2 separate regions of the Homo sapiens genome follow, and region 1 is linked to region 2. The links are contacts of gene promoters, found by promoter capture Hi-C in human tissues and cell types (Jung and others, 2019). All regions are on one chromosome and are shown on one strand. Each heading gives the region's core, a stretch centred on a gene start or on the middle of the fragment in contact. The rest is flanking DNA. Distances are from core to core; before and after follow the strand shown. Region 1 has its middle 7.6 kb from the start of CAPN7. Region 2 holds the start of SH3BP5 (SH3 domain binding protein 5).

Region 1 (6,634 bases), core at 1,345-3,844, 130 kb before region 2:
TGGAACCAACCCAAATGACCATTAATGATAGATTGGATAAAGAAACTGTGGCACATATACCCTATGGAATATTATGCAGCCATAAAAAGAATGAGTTCATGTCCTTTGCAAGGACATGGATGAAGCTGGAAACCATAATTCTCAGCAAACTAACACAGGAACAGAAAACCAAACACTGCATGTTCTCATTCATAAGGTGGAGTTGAATAATGTGAATACATGGACACAGGGTGGGGAACATCATACACCAGGGCCTGTTGCGGGGTGGGGGGCTAGGGGAAGGAGAGCATTAGGAGAAATACCTAATGTAGACGACGGGTTGATGGGTACACCCAACCACCATGGCACATGTATACCTATGTAGCAAACCTGCACATTCTGCACATGTATATCCCAGAACTTAAAGTATAATAAAATAAATAAATAAATAAATAAATAAATAATAAAAACACAAAAAATCATAATGGATGGTTACTCTGCTCACTACCTAGGTCCAATGTACCCATGTAACAATCCTATACATGCATCCCTTGTATCTGAAATAAAAGCTGAAAACTTTTTTAAAAGTACACATACAAAAATTTTAAAAAGCTTAAGAACAACAACAATGAAAAAAAAAAACCATAACGTGGAAATTCTGGATTGCATTCAGAGACTGTGTAGATGGAATGGAAGTCTGAGCTGGTGGAACTGCTCTCAAGACAGGCGTAGTTTTATTTTGAGCTGAAAAGGTTCCGGCTTGAGTAGTAGCCATCCTGTTGATGTTTTAAATTCTACTCATACTAATATGGTTCCCTGTGCCTGGGAAAAACTGTGTATAAACCAACACAATTTCCACTTGTTGTGTAATAGGAATATCTGCTACAGCAAAATTTCTTTTGAAAAGGGAGAAAACAATCTTATTTTCTATTTCTACTGAATAAACCAGCTTGCAATCATCTGAAAAGAATAAACTTCCTTAATTTGATGCCATTATACATTTAACCTTTGGGAATTTGTGAAGTGGAAGCACTTTCAAGTTCCTGCTCTGGAAGAGGACTGTGAATACTATTTTAGCCATCAGCCACGTAGAAGCTGTAACTACTAAAACAATGCAAATTATGTCATCCAGTCCAAGGTGTCTAGATGATAAGAGCAAGGTACAAGTGAGTGGCATTTTATGATTTAGCCTCATAAGTTAGATGGTAGCACTTCCACTATACACTATTAGTCAAGGCAGTCACAAAGTTATGTCCAGGATGCATGGTAGGGGACAAAGATCCTACCGCTTAAAAGAAGGGACATGAAGATACCCTTGTAAGGAGATCACGTGGGATGTAAGATAAAGCTTTTGGCCTATTTGTAAAATACAGTCTGCCACAGTTTGCTTTCTGGCCATATTTCTCATGCCTCCCACATGCAAAATACATTCAAATCACACCCCTAGAATTCTCAAGTCTCAAACTATTAAAACATCAGCTTGAAGTCCAGGAGCTTGTCATCTAAATCAGGTTCAGGTGAAGATGAGATGCCTTGGTGTGGTTCATTTGGGTGCAGCTCCTTAAATATCACTCCTTTTGATTAGAGCTCTGTTAAAGAGACAATCTGCACCCCCCCCCCCGCCCACACACACACCCAACGCACAGTGATAAGAGGCATAAGATGATCCCTATAGGAAAATCCTACTCGAAAGGGAGGAAGAGGCAAGCACACTGCAATAATCTAGAAAAATTCTGAAATGCAGTTTGGTATATGCTTCCAGTTCCTTATCAAGATTCAGTCCTACTGTCTGGGAGTTCTCTGTGAATTTCAAATTCCAAAACACATCTGGCTTAAGGGTGCAGTAAAGGATTGTGAAGCTGCACTCAGAGACTATAAGAAAAAGATGTGATAAACACTCCCATTGCCTATCAATGACTGAGCTCTTCAGAGGATGCTGTTGTTGCTTCTGTTTCCCAAGATGATCAGAGTTCAGGAAGTGGAATTCCAAGCAGCTCAGAGGTAAATGAGATAAGGGTTAAATGGTTCTGTAACCATTTCTTCTGCCCCTGCACTGACAGATTATCCCAAAAGAACACAGTCATGAAGAGTAAAGAGCACAGTCAAGTGTTGCAGGACATAACTTTGTCAAATACTTCATATGTGCCAGGTGTTGTGCTAAAGGCTTTACTGGCATTATCTCATTCAATCCTTCTAAAACTTTATGAGGTAGTTACTAATCTACCTATTTTACAGATGAGAAAAATTGAGGCTTAGAGATATTAATCAGTGTGCTGAAGGTTTGCAAAGTTAGAAAATGGTAACAAAATTGTGAAATGACTTTCTCCATCAATTTGCTTGTTTTCGTCATTAGAGTGGACATGAAAAAAATTTAATCTCTACATCAGCAGTCCCCAACCTTTTTGGTGTCAGGGACCAGTTCCATGAAAGACCATTTTTCCACAGACTGCGGGGATGGGGAGGGGATGATTCGAGCACACTACATTTATTGTGCACTTTGTTACTACTATTATTACATTGTAATATATGATGAAATAATTACACAATTCACATAATGCAGAATATGTGGGAGCCCTGAGCTTGTTTTCCTGCAACTAGATGGTCCCATCTGGGGGTGATGGAAGACAGTGACACCTGAAATGTGTTGCTTATGTCCAGTCTACTCCATAATCTCATTATGGTTTCTCTCACTACAAAAAACCCTGCTTCATAAAGATAGGATGTTAGAAATGGAAGCAGGCTTTTCAGTGCTTTTGTGGCAATCTCAGGCTACCACTTTGACTTTAGTCCAGAACATACGAAGATTTGAAGTTGTCTCAAACATACTTTTAAGGCCACCATCATTTGCAATCTCAAGCAGTTGATCCTCTTCTAGCACAAAGTTGATTTACCTGGCTTATTCACAAATGGGTTGCAGATCCATTCCTTCCTAGTTTGGGGGTCTTTTGTGGTTGGGAAGTAATGCTCAAACTCTTTTGAAAACTGAGATGGGTGATCATGCACCGGCTGGAAGAAAGAAGGCCCTGGCTCAGTCTCTTTCAAAATCTCTGCTAATGTTTGAAACATGTCAAAAATCCCAGTGTTCCCTTGTCACCCCCATAACTCCAGCTTGGCTTTGAATGCAGCCACTTTATCTGCTGACTTGAACACAGTTGTTGTTCTCCTCTGAAGTGATAGATTGAGTTCATTGAGCAGGTTGAATATGTCACACAAGGAAGCAAGTTTTGAGACCCATTCTGTGTCACTGAAATGTGCTGCCAATGGTGACTGTTTTTCTAAAAGAAATCTCTGGAGGCTCATAACTCAGAAACTCTGGCCAGTGATCTACCTTTAGAAAGCCACCTCACTTCTGTGTATAAGAGAAGACACGTGTGCTCTGCGTCCATCTTCTCACAGAGCTGCGTGAACAGATGTTAGTTAAGGGTATGTACTTTAATGTGGTTGGTAATTTTAATCACATCCTGCAAAACGTTAAGTTCAGGTGACATTTTTCAGCTAACCAGCATTTTTCTATGGATGACACACTGCATAGACTCACATTCACAAGCGACCTCTTTGACCCAAGCAGTGAAACCAGAAAGCCATCTAGTCATGGCAGCCACTATGTCCTTGCATAAACTGACACAAAATGATCAATTCAGTTTCCAGACATGTAATCATTCAAAGACTTAAATAGTTCTGCAGCTGTGGTATTGGTTGGCAACAAAAGTACCCAAAACATACCCTTATGCACATCCTCTTGAAAAATATGTCACACAAAAACAAATATTGTTGCCTTGTTGTCAACATCAGTAGACTTGTCAACCTGGATTGTGTACTCCAGTGACTCATTAATCCTCTCTAACAATTGTGCCTCAATATCCTCTGCTATTTCATCGATGCCTCTAGTTACGGTACCAACCAAAAGAGGAACACGTGCCAGCTTTTGAACTGCAGCCCCTCCTAAAAGTTCATGACAAATGTCCTCAGCAGCAGGCAGGATCAGCTCTTTTTCAACAGTAAAGGGCTTCTTAGCTTTAGCAATGTGGTTAGCCACTAAGAATGATGCTCTCAGTGCAGACACATTTGATGAAGTGGTGGCCTTCAGTAATTGCTTCTGTTCTTCATGCTCACTTTTTTTCTTTGGGAAAACTCCAAAGACTTGTGTTTTAATGCAGGGTGCTTGGTCTCCACATGGCAAAGCAGTTTTGAAGGTTTTATGTCTTCATTGGATAGCCGGTTGCCACACATTATACAACGTGGGCTTGGAGAACGTGAATCACCTGTTGCAATGAACCCATAATTTAAGTAGGACTCTTGGTATTTTTTTAATGCAGCTTTCTTTCTGTTGGCAGTCGTAGAGTCTTCTGCTGTGTCATCATTGGGTCTTTCCCCTTTTCAAATAAGTTTTCCAGTGACAACTGATTTTTACTCATTTGGGTTTGGGTTAGCTTGTGGGCTTACCAAAACTGACTGAGACAAGTGGGTAGCGTGGGAAAGAGGACTGCAGGCCACGCACTCCACGTGAGGACTAAAATAAGTGTTGGATTCTAACTTCAAGCCTGCCACCAGATGCAGCTGTACAATTGAAGTACATCAACTCAGTTACCACTATAAAGCCTACCACCAGATGCAGCTTCATTGTCACTTGCCGCTCACTGATAGGGTTTTGATATGAGATCACAAGCAATTTATTATGGTCTCTGTGCAGTCAAACCTCTGCTAGTGTTAATCTGTATTTGCAGCCACTCCCCAGCGTTAGCATCACTGCCTCAGCTCCACCTCAGATCATCAGGCATTAGATTCTCATAAGGAGCACGCAACCTAGATCCTTCGCATGCAGAGTTCACAGCAGGTTTTGAACTACTATGAGAATCTAATGCTGTGGCTGATCTGACCGGAGGCAGAGCTCAGGCAGTAATATGAATGATGGGGAGCAGCTGTAAATAGAAATGAAGCTTCGCTCACTTGCCCACCACTCACCTCCTGCTGTGCAACATTGTTCCTAACAGGACAGAGATGATATCAGTCTACAGCTCAGGGGTTGGTGACCCCTGATCTACTTTGTCCAATGAAAACTGAAAGTGTAAAATTGGTGAACTGTATCAACGTCAATTTCCTGGTCATTATGTTGTACTAGAGTTATGCAAGCTATTACTACTGAGATAAACTAGATAAAGTGTATATGAGATTTCTGTGTTATTTCTTACAATAGCATGTTAAGTTACAATTATCTCAAAATAGAAAGCTTAATTAGAAAGAAAACTAAAACTGTGCTCCAAAGATAGTATCTCCAGACTTCTCTTATACCTTTTTGAGGGACAATGCAATACTTTGGACAATGCAACAGGAAAACTGAAGGCTAATTTAATAATTATTATTTCACAATTACTTTATCCATTTAGGCATTTCATCTTTCTTCTGTTGTCCTATTATTTTAGTATTTTTAAATGATAGCTTGTAATTATTGAGTAATGATGAAATAATTCATAGAATGATAAAATATCAAAATATTTTAACATGTACAGAAGGATCCCAAAAGGTAGCTTAGATTCCAAAAGGTAGCTTAGATTATAAAGGGATCCAATGGGCTCATATGGTAATCGTAAGATAGAATGAGCTTTATTATATATATAGGAAAATTTATAAATATATAATATATATTTATAAATGTATATTTATAAATTTATTTATACATTTAATACATAAATTCATTTATAAATATATATAATTTATAAATTAAAATTTTATCTTGGTTCTTTGGAAGATCTCTAATAAAGAACAAAAGTCATTGAAATATCAATCCTTACAAATATTTAGAACCCCTCTATAAAGAAACTCAAATTAAAATTGAGTGTAGCAGTCCACAATGGTGTACTGAGAATTAAGATAGAAACCCAAACTCTTAACAGGGCCTACAAGGCCCTACATGGTCTCATGCCTGACACCCTCACCTTCTGAGCCTCTGCCTGCATTTCACTGTGTCTGCTCCAGCTACACTGGCCTCTGTTCCATGTTCAGTTTTGCCACTGGCCACTGCACAAGCAGTTCCTTCTATCTCAGGGAAAGTCTTTGCTGACCCCCTAGTTCAGGTCAGTTTCCTTTTCATAAGCTCTTACAAAACTGTTGATTACCTTTGGAGTACTCGTCTACATTTGTAATGATTCATTCACTAATGGCCTTTATTGATTGATTAATGCCTGTGTCCTCCCAGTAGGCCAAAAGCCCTATGAGAGGAGGGCCTGTTTTCACACCACTGTATCCACAAATGTCAGCATTTACCTTCTCTCCTTCTTGAGACTGCTCTAAAATTATGTAAAGGAATTAAAGTACCAAGAAAGGATCAAAATAACAGGATATGAGCCCAGTGTAGCCTGTAGATGTGCAATGTTGTCTCTTAGTACTTAGAAAAACATTTCACTGGCCAGGAGTGGTGGCTCACAATTGTAATCCCAGCACTTTGGGAGGCCGAGGCGGGTGGATCACCTGAGGTCAGCAGTTCGAGACGAGCCTGACCAACATGGTGAAACCCCATCTCTACTAAATACAAAAAACTAGCCGGGCGTGGTGCCGCATGCCTGTAATTCAAGCTACTTGGGAGGCTGAGGCAGGAGAACTGCTTGAACCCAGGAGGCGGAGGTTTCAGTGAGCTGAGATTGCACCATTGCACTCCAGC
Region 2 (7,363 bases), core at 428-2,927:
AACTTTGCTTAGAAAACAATAAAAGACAATAAGCAAGGCCAAGCCAAAAATATAAACCCAGTGAAATCATCAAGGGCAGAATTCTGGTATTAACTCACCAGAATTATTTTTCTGTAAAGGGTGAAAATCTTTTCACACTGCCAATTATTCAACCTACTTAGCTGGACGTTTTAAACTAGCTTTAATCCCATTCCTTTCAATAAACATTTACAAACTGACATTTTGTAAAAAAAGTATCCAACATGAACTTAACTCATCATTACTATGCAAACAAAGGATCTTGCTAACATAATCCCATACCAGTAACACACGATTTATTCCAAACCAATTACTTTAATTAATAGCATTCCTAATGCAAGGATTTTTTTTCCACCTGATCTTTATCTTGCTAAGCTGACAAAACAATTCATTTAAACCCCAACCACTGAGTTAAGTGAGCTTTTAAATTGATCTGTGCACTAAAAAACCAATTAGGTATCCAGAAATTACAGAGCATGCTTAAAAGCAATTTTTTTAAAAAAATGATTTATTGAAAAGGTAGAAAAAAAACGGGCCTTAGAAAGGGATTTGCTCTGCTTTTTGCTTAGGGGTGAAGAGGTGAAACTGTCACTCCTAGATCTCGGCTTGGAAATTGTTTTTTAATCATCTCTCTTGGAAATGGAGGCACAGCCAGCCAGCCCAATCCCCTCGCCGCCTCCACGCGTCAGCTTTGCGCATCAGTTGTCCCCGATTTCTTTTCATGCCCAACCTCACAACAAGGAAAAGCAGGGTTTTAAGCAATTTCAAGCCAGGCAGAACGTTGAGCCAGTGATGACAATAAGCCGCTCAGTTCGCTAACAATCAATCAGAGAAGGAAAACGGCTCAGGCCGGGCACCTTGGCAAGTGAGGACTCTGCACCCGGGGCACCGGTGCCAGCCCGCGCTGCAGGGCAACGCCCACCCGCCCACGGTGCCCGGCGCCCACGCGGGCGACACCTCCTCGCAGAGCCTGGACGCCGTGCCATGCCCGCGGTGCCGCGGCCGGGCAGGGGTACCCCCGAGGATACCATGGCGCCCCCGCCCCCTTTTTCCCTTTGTTGCACATCCACCCGAACCACCAGGCACGCTGCACCGACCCCGATCCTGCTACGGGTCGGCGGGGGACTCCCCGCAATAGAGTCAGGCCGCATCCACGCGGGCACTGTAGCCTCCTCATTGTGGAGACGATGAAACGGAGCATACAGACCGTCTCCTGCCACCCTATGTGGCCGCCAGTCCCCGGACCACAGTTACTGGGGGCTGCGAAGTGGCTGTACGCGTAGACACCGACCTCCGTAGCAGCCCTCGCGAAGCCCGGATGCGGGGCGACCCCGCGCGCCCTACCTGGATCCGGGGATCCACCTCTTCTTCCTCCTCCAGCCCCTGCTCCATCCCCTCTTCCTCCTCCTCCTCCTCGTCCCGGGCAGGCGGCAGGATTTCGGCTGGCTCCTCCGAGCGGCTCCGCTTCAGTGCCGCGTCCATGCAGGCAGCCGGCACGCGCGCCGCGCAGTGGGCTCCGGAGCGCCCCGGGGGTCGCGGCTGCCACAGGCTGGGCTGGAGCCGCCTCGCCACAGCCGGGCACGGTCGGGGAGCCGCCGGGGCCGACACCCGGGAGACGCAGCTCGCCGATGCGGATACCTCCGGCCGCGGCGGAGCAGAGGAAATGGGCGCGGCCGCCCCCTTTCTGCCGCGGCAGTCAGCGCAGCGCCCGCTCCGCCCCCGTCCCGCCCCGGCCTCGCGTTCCGCCGCCAGTCCCAGCTATCCAGGTCTCCGTCGCAAAACCCCAGCTCCCTCCACATCTCCAAGGTGGCAAAATAGGACAGCCCCCACCCCCTTGTAACTTAGCAGCTCGGATATATCTCAACTACGTAACGCAAGCCTCCCGCTTTCGGGAGTCCCCTCCTCCAGCCCTCCTCCGAGGCTCGTTGTTTGTGTGGTAGGGAGGCGTGGGTGTTTTCACACTGAAGTCGCCTTCTGAAGCCTACGCTCAGTGACCCTGGCCCTCAGGACCAAGACTTGCCGAAACCCTATACCCAAAGCACACTCATCCTCTTGAGCGAACCTTGGGAATGGCGGAGGTTCCGTGCACTGATGCATTGCCGAAGGCTGCGGCCTCTCTGGGCGAGCCCCATACCGAAACACAGAGGTGCGGCGGTCCTACCTGAATAGCCAGGAGCATGGAGAATGCATTGAGCTGGGATTTAAGGAGGTGGCAAGTGTAACCCCTGTTGATGGGCACACTCTGGCCAAGAATTTATGAATTAGTGAGACTTTCTGCCCACCATCAACAAGTAGGGAGACAGAGTTGGCCTGGCAGACACAGCATCCGAAAAGGCCAAACTGAAGAGGCACGTGTGTGTGCTTTTATGAAATGTCAGGGCCACTGTGATGTCAGGGGAACGCAAAGGATGACCTTGGCAAAGCAGATGAGCACATGGCTGCTCACGTCTCCTTGCCTTGAGAAATGCAGAACGTGCACATGTCCTACACGGAGGCCTGTAGCCCATCGGCTCTGAGTTTGGAGGACAAATTTGCTTGAGAAAGGAGCTTCTTTCTGAGAACCTATCATCAAAGCCACCTTACAAAACCTGGGTCTGGCACAACGTGGTGGCTCGTATCTGTAATCCCAGCTCTTTGAGATGCCAGGACACAAGGATCACTTGAGGCCAGGAGTTCAACACCAGCCTGGACAATACAGCCAGACCCCTTCTCAAATGAATAAATAGTCCTGCTCCTGGTGGTTTTATCAGAAACTAGGCTAGAGGGTTACTCCTTGGGCAAGGCACCACCCCATACACGCTGGCACTGTAGTCCACTGTCAAAGGAAATTTGTCCTGTCTCCTGGAGGTAGTGCCATGGTTTGTTTCTAAAAAGGTCAGACCTGTTCATTGCTCTTTAAATCAAGGATGAGTCAGCAATTCTGTGAGAGGTGCTTCAAAGCTCCTTGCTAAAGACATAGTTGCTTTTGGTTTTCCAATGATAGATGAAGCCAGGAACAAGATAGCCATAGGGGTCACTTTGGAACACAGGAGCCACCAACCTTCTCTGGTGGCTTGGAATTGAGCCTCCAACTTTGCAGGTACATCCTAGCTCTGAATGAACTGAGAGACAGAGTTTGAAATAAACAGAACTCTGGGGTCAGCCCTGACTATGATAAATGCTTCTCAGCTAGCAGAACCCTATCCTCTCCATTCTAAATGGCAAACTCCAAACTACATTCCTGCTTAAGCTTAGGTCAAGAGCAAAATACATCTATGAGACATAGGCCAACTGCTCAAGAACATCAGTTCAGACTTTTGTTGTCTTATTTTTTGGAGATCTGGGCCAGCTATAGTGTTAATCCTAATAGTCTTTCTAAAGATAAAATGAGAAAAATAAATAAACCACAGGCAGTACTATATACAGTCAACCCTCCATAGCCTCTCAGGTTCCACATGTGTAAATTCAACTAACCACAGATAGAAAATATTTGGGGGAAAAAAACACAACAATTAAAAAAATGCATATTTAAAAATACATGGCCAGGAGTGGTGGCTAACACCTGTAATCCTAGCATTTTGGGAGGCTGAGGCAAGGAGGATCACTGGAGGCCGGGAGTTCCAGACCAGCCTGGGCAACAAAGCGAGACTGCCTTGCTCTCTAGAAAAAAAAAAAATACAGTATATGACAACTATGTACATATTTGCATTGTATTAGGTATTGCAGGTAAGAAATCTAGAGCTGACTTAAAGTATACAGGAGGGGCTGCTCATGGTGGTTCATGCCTGTAATCTCAATACTTTGGAAAGCCAAGGTGGGTGGGTTGCTTGAGCTCAGGAGTTCAAGACCAGCCTGGACAACATGGTGAAACACCATCTCTACAAAAAATACAAAAAATTCGCCAAGTGTGGTGGCTCATGCCTGTAGTCACAGCTATTTGGGAGGCTGAGATGGGAAGATTGCTTAAGCCCAGGAGGTAGAGGTTGCAGTGAGCTGAGATTGCACCACTGCCCCCCAGCTTAGGTGACAGCAAGACCCTGTCTCAAAATAAATATATATATATAAATAATAAAGTATACAGGAGGGGCCAGATGTGGTGGCTCATGCCTGTAATCTCAGTCCTTTGGGAGGCCGAGGCAGGAGAGACGATCGCTTGAGGCCAGGCGTTTGAGACCAGCCTGGACAACAAAGCAAGACCTGGTCTCTAGGCCAGGCATGGTGGCTCACATCTGTAATCCTAGCACTTTGGGAGGCCGAGGCAGGTGGATCACCTGAGGTCAGGAGTTTGAGACCAGCCAGGACAACATGGTAAAAATACAAAAATTAGCTGGGCATGGTGGCACATGCCTGTAATCCCAGCTACTCGAGAGGCTGAGGCAGAAGAATCGCTTGAACCCAGGAGGCAGAGGTTGCAGTGAACCGAGATGATACCACTGCATTCCAGCCTGAACGACAGAGTAGGACTTTCTCTCAAAAAAAAAGAAAAAAGAAACACCTCATCTCTAATAAAAATTGTTTTAAATTAGCAAGGCATGGTAGCACATGCCTGTAGTTCCAGCTACTCTGGAGGCTGAGGTAGATCACTTGAGCCCAGGAAGTCAAAGCTGCAGTGACCCCGATCATGCCACTGTACTCCAGCCTGGGTGACAGAGGGAGACCCTATCTCAAAAAAAAAATGTTTTTAATGAAAAAATAAATTAAATAAAGTATACAGGAGGTTGTATGTAGGTTATATGTAAACACTGCCATTTTCTACAGGGGACATAAGCATCTCAGATTTTAGCATTGCAGGGGTCCAGAAACCAATCCCCCAGGGATATCAAGGGACAACTGTATATATTCCCTATTGGCACATATGTAGTGCACATAAATGCATAGCAAAAGGCCTGGAAGGATTTATACCCAGTAAAGAGTGGCTACCTCTGGGAAAAAGGGAGCAGGGCGTGGCCTAGGATTGTCTGGGATGGGGGCAGGGGATCAAAGGAATGTTAGTTTCTCAGTAATGTTTTTATTTTTCACAAGGAAGATATGTTTATGATTGTTTTGTGGAATTTAAAGATAAATTTAAAATAATGCATACTGGTCAGGTATGGTGGCTTATGCCTGTAATCCCAGCTACTCTGGAGGCTGAGGCAGGAGAATCACCTGGACCCAGGAGGCAGAGGTTGTAGTGAGCCGAGATGGCACCATTGCACTCCAGCGTGGGCGATAAGAGTGAAACTCCGTCTCAAAAAAAAGAAAGAAAGAAATGAGAAAGCGTACCACATATACTTTTGGGGGAAAAGCACTCCAGAGACTGCAGCAGCATGTGCAAAGGTCCTGAGGTGGGAATATGCCTTGGGTGTTGGCAAAAAAGCAAGGAGATCCATGTGGGTAGGACAGAGACAGCCAGGGAGAGAGGGAGGGAGATGAAATCAGAGGCAAGCATGTGGGTAGGCCACGGAGATGCTTTAGGTCATGGTAAGGAATTTGGATTTTGTTCTGAGTGAGTGCTCCTGTAATAACTCTGGCTAGTGTATGAGAAATTGACTCGGTGGACATTGAGGAGCTAGGGTCAGAGGAGACAAAGGAGATCCATTAGCCTGATGATCAGCCTCTTCTGATTGCTTCTGTTTTTTCAGCAAAGTAATGAGCCACATCATCAGCTGAGAATGAGGGGATGTGGGGCAGAGGGCAATGGAGGTTGGAGGAGAGAGGCTTTGTGAAAGAGCTTGCAGGGACAGTTGGTGACTGAGTTGACCATGGGAATATATTATAATCGCCAGGTTGCGCTAAGGACCCACCTATGGTTTGAGAGTCCCAGTGAACCCAGTCAGCAAGGACGAGTGGATTTTCCTATAGTATAGTCTCCAAATCATTCCCATCTTTCTAACCCTTGATTCAGGGCTTCATCATGGCTCCCTAGACTCTTTTACAGTCCCTCACCCTCTTATGTCCACACTTCCCATTTGATCTAGCTTAGATTCCATTGTCCATCATTAAAATCACCACACTACAGTCAACCACAACTCCCTCACGCTTCTCCCCGACCACTGTAAGCACTTGGCATAATCCCAACCCTGGTTCAATCCCACAGTCTTACTACTTTTTACCTGTACTTAGTAGCTAAGCTAAAGTGCTGGAATTATAGGCGTGAGCCACCACACTCAGCCAAAGAGTTGGGGTTTTTTTTAGTTTAGTTTTTTTTTTTTTTTTTTTTTTTGGGACAGAGTCGCGCTATGTCACCCAGGCTGGAGTGCGGTGGTGTTAGCTCACTGCAACCTCCGCCTCCTGGGTTCAAGCTATTCTCCTGCCTCAGCCTCCTGTGTAGCTGGGATTATAGGCGCCTGCCACCACACCCAGCTAATATTTATATTTTTAGTAGAGATGAAGTTTCACCATGTTGGCCAGGCTGGTCTTGAACTCCTGATCCACCCACCTCAGCCTCCCAAAGTGCTGGGATTACAGGCGAGAGCCACCGTGCCCGGCCAAGAGTTTTTATTTAATGTTTTTAAACTGAAGTTTGCAAGTGAAAGTGATCAACAACATTAATTCATTTGTATTTTTGTTCTGTTTTTTGTTTTTAGATCTAGATCTGCAGAAAGCAACATTAATTCAGTACACTTTTCAGCCCCTACTATATGCATACACTATTTCTGGGGCCAGTTTGAGGGTCCCAAACATGTAGATGACAAATTCCTAGTCCTTTACTTGGGGAGACAGGCCCTCATGAAACCTGGGCCCCAGGCCAGGTCTCACACCTGTAATCCCAGCACTTTGAGAGGCCAAGGGAGGAGGATCGCTTGAGGCCAGGAGTTCAAGACCAGCCTGGGCAACATAGTAAGAGCCTCCCCACATCTCTACCAAAAAAAAATTTTTAATTAGCGGAGTGTGGTGGTGTGTACCTATAGTCCTAACTACCCAGGAGGGTGAGGCAGGAGGATCCCCTGAGCCCAGGAGCTCGAGGCTGCAGTGAACTAAGGAAGTGCCATGGCACTATAGCCTGGGTGACAGAGTGAGACCCTGACTCAAAAAAAAAAAAAAAAAAAAAAAGTGCCCCAAAGCAGCAGCCAAGTCAATCCCTCATTGTGAAGTTAAGACCCTTTCTGTCAAATTTCAATGCCATTTAAATTAAGATTCCTTGCAATGCCAATTTTTTTTTTTAATGCTTTGTGAGCTAGGCGTGCTGGCCCACATCTGTAATCCCAGCACTTTGGGAGGCCAATGTGGGAGGACTGCTTGAAGCCAGGAGTTCAACACCAGCCTGGGCAACATAGCAAGACCCCATGTCTACCAAAAAATACAAAAACTAGCTAGGTGTGGTGGTGTGCACCTGTAGTCCTAACTACTCCAGAGGCTGAGATGGGAGGATTGCTTGCACCCAGGA

Evidence for each region. The method cuts DNA at HindIII sites, captures the fragments that hold promoters and counts their contacts. A contact is called where the count stands out against the background at its distance.
Region 1: a contact is called between a fragment that was not itself captured here and the fragment with the promoter of SH3BP5 in region 2, in 1 of the 25 tissues and cell types used here (liver).

What each region holds. Positions count from the first base shown.
Region 1 is chr3:15,195,320-15,201,953 of GRCh38, forward strand. It overlaps the pseudogene COL6A4P1. Among named protein-coding and RNA genes, the nearest start is that of CAPN7, 7.6 kb to the right of the region's middle. The HindIII fragment of the contact is 4,934 bases long and covers 128-5,061 here.
Region 2 is chr3:15,330,909-15,338,271 of GRCh38, forward strand. SH3BP5 (SH3 domain binding protein 5) reads right to left here and starts at 1,678. Exons shown (of 9, transcript NM_004844.5): 1 at 1,363-1,678. The coding sequence starts at 1,500. RefSeq lists silencers at 1,247-1,306, 1,387-1,786. The HindIII fragment of the contact is 12,246 bases long and covers 457-7,363 here.